Linked DNA regions of Homo sapiens: region 1 is linked to region 2. The links are contacts of gene promoters, found by promoter capture Hi-C in blood cells and fetal thymus (Javierre and others, 2016). All regions are on one chromosome and are shown on one strand. The core of a region is centred on a gene start or on the middle of the fragment in contact, and the rest is flanking DNA. Distances in the headings are between cores, read along the strand shown.

Region 1 (2,700 bases), core at 70-2,569, 140 kb before region 2:
AGTCAAAGAGTTAAAAAAATTTAAAAAGTGTATAAAGTAAAAACTTACAGTAAGCTAAGGGTAATTTATTATTGAAGAAAGAAAATTTTAAAATAAATTTGGCATAGCCTAAGTGTACAGTGTTTCTAATCCTTGTAGGGTACAGTAATGTCCTAGGTCTTCACATTCTCTCACTGCTCACACACTGACCCAGAGCAACTTCCAGTCCTGCAAGCTCCAGTCATGGTAAGGGCCCTATGCAGGTGTACAGTTTTTATCTTTTATACCATACCTTCACTTTACAGTTTCTACATTTAGATATGTTTAGATCCCCGAATACTATAGCGTTACAATTGCCTGCAGCACTCGGTATGGCAACATGCAGTACAGGTTTGTAGCCTAGGTATGTGGTAGGCTGCACCATCTAGGTTTCTGTAAGTACACTCTGTGATGTGTGCACAATGACATAATCCTTTTTTATCTTTATGACCCCCTTGTCAACCCTCGAATCCCCTTTTGAATGAGGAGGAGCATAAGTACATGAGTTTTAGAGAAGGTAGTCAAAAGCTGGCATATCAAGGAATTGAACACAAGGCAAAACTCTTGAGAAGGAGCCAAGAATCAGAAGTCAGCAATGAAAGAAAAATCCCACAAACCAAAGGGGCAAGGGTGAGTTAAAAATGTAGAGGTGGATCCAGAGCTGGAACCAGGGGAAAGTTAGAACAGGTTTAGACTCTAGGGAAGCCAGCACTTTCCCCATAAGCTGGCGGGGCTTCTCAGCTTGCTTCGTGGTTCAGTGGAGGCATTGGGTTCTGAGGGGTGTTGAAGCCACTCACGTCCTACCATAGGCTGGACTCCTTTTTCCTCTCCCCACCCTTGCCGGCTCTGGGCACCGCCTCCTGCTTCTCAGGGCACCTCACTGCTCTTGTCATTAATGGAGATAGTTAGGGAGAGAGGAAATGAGGTAAAGAATGAAGTGAAATTAGCTTTACAGTAATCTCATTAACAGATGTCAGTCTCATTTTATAGGGAGCATAGAGCTACATATGGAATATTATTCTAAGAAAGCTGGACAATTCATTGCACCGAGGGGAGGAGGTGTCCCTTCTTCAGTCCATGTGAATTCCTTCAGTTATGCACTTCCCTCCATCCTCATATCTCTCTTTTGCTATGACTTCCTTCCATCAAATTTCCCTTCTCTTCTACATCTTCAATCTCTTCCTCTCTCCTAAATCCTTTCCTCCATATCTACTCAAGTTGTTCTCATCCTTTAACAATTTCTTCCTTGATTTCTCTAGTTCTGTCTTCCTTCCTTTTACAGACAGCTCTCCTGAAAGTTCTCTGCACCTACAGCTTCCCCTTTCTCTGTTTCTCACTCCACAGTGGTGTGGGTACTCTCACTCTGTCACTCATACTGGAGTGCAGTGGTATGATCTTGGCTCACTGCTGCCTTGAACCCTTGGGCTCAAGCGAGCCTCCTGAGTAGCTGGGACTGCAGGTGTGCACCACCACACCTGGCTAATTAAAAAAAAAAAAAAAAAAAATATATATATATATATATATACACACACACACACATACATATTGCAGAGATAGAATCTTGTTATGGTTCCTAGGCTGGTCTCAAACTCCTGACCTCAAGCAATCCTTCTGCCTTGGCCTCCCACAGCCCTGGGATTACAGGTATGAGCCACCACACTGGTCTCACTTATTCTTAATTTCATCTCTTCTGGTCTTTTCTTTCTTTTTTTTCTGCAGGTTACAATTCCTTTGCTTGTCCCTTAAATGCATGGTTCATTCTTGACCCTCTTCTCTTTTCATCCTCTAAATGTTTCCAGATGTATCATCTCTTCCTGTGGCTTTGTATGGCAGTGCTGCCAAATATAGATATTTCTGACCAGAGCCCTCTACTGAGTTGTGTTTGTGTGCACAACTACCTTCTGCACTTCTGACCCTTTACCCAAGGCTGTCCCTCCTCCTGGATGTCATTTTCTGGAGAATGGCATGGTCAGCTACTTTGATTTCTGAATCAGGAACCTGGACATTATCTCTGACCCTCTCTTACCCCTTCTCTACTCCATGTCCAGTCAGACACCAGTCAACATAACCCTGGACTCTGCTTCTTACCATCTCACAGCCTCAGTCCCTTCTCTCCATCCCCACAGCCACTGCCTTAGTTCAGGCCTCCAGTGTTCATGCAACCTCCTGAATGGCCTCCCCCACACCAAGATTCTCTCCATTAACCCATCTCCACATTGTGGCCATGGTGGCTATTAAAGACATATATCTGGGTGTGATGTTCTCCCAGGGAAAAACCACATTGGCTTCCGTGCAATTAGGGAATCTCTGAAGTCCCTGTCTTGGTCTTGAAGGCCTTTCAGAGTGGGCTGCATCTCTGGCCTCAGCCTCCCCAGGTCTCTGCTGTGGGCCAGTCCATGCTAGCCTGTACGGAGCTGCTTGCTGCTTTACGTGTCAGTGCTGTTGAACTTGCTGTTTCCTATACCTAAAATACATCCCTACCTTCTTCACCAGATTGACCCATACACATACTTCAGCACAGCTCAAGCATCCTTCTTCCAGCCTTCGCTGACACAGCCTCCTCCCTCTCCCCCAGGCTGGGTGAGGGACTTTTCCTCTGCGTTCCTTTGTCCTCATCTCTGTCAGACACTATCATACCATACTGTGAGCATTTGTTTTCTTGTCAGTAAATAAAGGCAGGAC
Region 2 (2,700 bases), core at 1-2,500:
ATACCCTGGGCCGGCCGCCACGTCGCCGACCCTCCCGCAGCTCCCGCCGCCAGGGCGCGACACGCCATTCCCCCTGCCGCGACTCCCCGGAGACGCCGCAGCTGCGCGCCAGGGTCCAGCCCGGCGGGGATCGGGCTCGGGACTCACCCGCTCCGGCGAGCTCGACTCAGCTCGGGCTCCCGCCTCGGCTAGGCAGCCGCCTGGGGCTGCGTCCCGCGCAGGGTCAGCGCGGATCGGGCAGGAGGCGCCCTCTTGGCAAAGTCGGCTAGAGGCGCCAGCTCAGTCGCGCACCGGCCCCGAGTCCGAGTCCGAGAGGGACGGAGGGAGCGAGTTATAGGGGCGAGAGGGGGTGGGGGAAGGACGCCGCAACACCCTCATACCCTCCCCCACCCCGCCCCCTGTCCCCCGCCCCCCAGCGGAGACGCGGAAAACCACTCGCAGCCGGAGAGACACCCGGACACAAAGACCTCGTGCCAGCCGCAGACCCAAGTTTCTCCCGGAGAGACTGGGGGTCCGCCCGCGTTCACCGCGAGAACACACAAACGGACGGACAGACCGACGCACGGACCCGGGGACCTCGACACTCGCTAGGAGGCAAGCCCTATTCCTCAGCCGGGCGCCCCTCGTCTCCCGCTCTCTCCATGGACCCCTCTCCTGGCAAATCGCCCGCAGAGCGAGCTTGGAGATGCGAGGGAAACTGAAGCCCCAAGGGTGCCCCGTCCTGGGAGCCTGGCTGTCTGCGGGGTCCCCCGCATTCCGCAGTAGTAATACAGGAGGGCCGGGGGCTTCTACCCCAACCTCCGCTCCCCTTCGGGTCTCTCCTGGCTGTGCAAGCGATGGGCCAGAGGGCTGGACGAGGCTGGCTCCCAATCCAGAATCCCGAGCTGGGGAGTTCTCTCTAGGTTCTGGGGCTCCTGGGACCGGGGCTTTGGGGAAGGGAGATCGCAGGACGGATATCCAGGAAGGGAGGGGGCCCTGGGTCTCCCGTTACCTGCGCCTGCCGCGCTGGGACTCCGCTCTGGGGGCTGCAGCTCGAAGCTCCGACAAGTCTCCACGTCCAGCCCGAGAGGGGGCGGCCGGGCCCGGCACAGCGAGGCGAGGACCGCGAGCGCCTCCTGGCACCGAGGCCCGCCGGCCCCCCACACTCCGCTCATGCCCTAGACACCCAGGCTTGCCGAGCAGCAGCTCGAACCCGCGCCCCGGCCGCACTGGGGCGGGGCACGACGGCCCCAAGAAGACCCTCCCTGCAGCGGCCCCCTGCGGCTCCGCTCTGCTTTTAATCACTTCCCCGCAGGGTCCCCGCCCCTCACGTGGCATCCCGCGGCAGCTGGCGAGTCTGGCGCCTCGCGGCCGCCCCCTCTACACTCAGGGACTGGCCTGAGTCCGGGGGGTGGGGGTTTCGAGGCGGGAAGCCGGGCTGTCCCGAATCTCGGAGGGTGCAAGGCCAGGAAAGAGTCCGGGTTCCCACTCCGCATTCACTGCCTGGTGTGACCTTGGGCGTCTCTGAGCCTCAATTTTCCTCTCCGTAAAGGAGGTGTAATGATTTTAAGTACTTCACGGACTCCCTGGGGATAGAAAGATCGTGTTTGTGAAAACACTGGGTAAACTGCCACATGCCACACGAATGACAGAGAAATAGATAACCCCGTAACAGAAAGAGCGACGGTCAGGCAGGGTCTGGGAGGACCTTGGCCGAGGTTCCTGACGGGAGCAGTTAGACTGGCCCCCGAGTCCCAGCTTCGGAGGTAGAAGACCCCAAGACAGGCGGGCGATGCGAACTGCAAGACTTTCCGAGCTCCGCAATCCTGCGGTCCGCGGTACCCGCATGTTGCTATGGCGACGGGAGGCAGCGGCCGTCTCTCTCCATGGCAACGGGAGGGAAAAGTTTCTGGCAAACAGGAATGGGGGGTCATTTCAAGAGGGCGCAGGGCGCTCAGTTCCGCCGACCCACCTCCTTGCTTCGGTGAAACAGCACCAGAGATCATGTATCTTTCTGCTAAGCATAACAAGAAAGACAGAAAGCTCAACGGGAGGATTGAGGCTAGACTTAAAGTAGAGATCCCCTCAGAAACTGTGGAGTGAGGCCCAGGAACAGATCGGCTGAGAGGCTTCGAGCTGCCTCACTCAGCGCTGGAAGTCTGTGAGCCATGGTCAGGGAGGCCGGGGGACCAGCGCCCTGCAGGGGCCTATCTCGGGAGTCTCTTGATCTACACCTGTCGGCGGTGGGGCCCCTTCTGTGTGGGGCTCGCCTGAAGCCCCAGACTCAGGTCCATTTGCTCTCCCGGAGCTGGGAAGGAAGCTTTAGCTGCAGCCCCTGGAGGCTGCTGGGTTGGTGTATGCCCGAGTGGCTGGCGAGGGAGAAAGGTCTTGCCTCTTAATTAACACGCTTATTGGAAGTGACTCGGGCAGTGACTCACGTTCCGGAGGGAGGAGATTCGGAGCCTTAGCTCCTGGCGGTCTCCACTGCGCGCCATCTGTGCCAACCGGCCCTTGGACTTGCGATCCCCTAGCAGCTGGTGCCTGGGGCACCAAGGGCTAAGGCAAGGCCTGTGAGGACCCTGGCCCAGCCAGGCGGCTTTTCCACCGTGAGGCGCCCCCTGGCTCTGTCCACGGTGCTGAAGACCCAGTTGGTGCTACCATCGCGTGGGCATAAGTTTAGGGGACGAGGGAGAGGCAATTGTTGAAGGTTCGCAGCTTCCA

Evidence for each region. The method cuts DNA at HindIII sites, captures the fragments that hold promoters and counts their contacts. A CHiCAGO score of 5 or more calls a contact.
Region 1: a fragment that was not itself captured here is called in contact with the fragment with the promoter of SYT6 in region 2 in 2 of 17 cell types (M2 macrophages and M1 macrophages); the score reaches 6.2 in M2 macrophages.

The regions. Positions count from the first base shown.
Region 1 is chr1:114,010,156-114,012,855 of GRCh38, forward strand. No RefSeq gene overlaps it. Among named protein-coding and RNA genes, the nearest start is that of OLFML3, 32 kb to the left of the region's middle. The HindIII fragment of the contact is 2,795 bases long and covers 1-2,700 here.
Region 2 is chr1:114,152,619-114,155,318 of GRCh38, forward strand. It overlaps SYT6 (synaptotagmin 6), which reads right to left and starts at 1,251. Exons shown (of 8, transcript NM_001253772.2): 1 at 992-1,251. The coding sequence starts at 1,154. RefSeq lists an enhancer at 2,426-2,700. The HindIII fragment of the contact is 4,368 bases long and covers 1-2,297 here.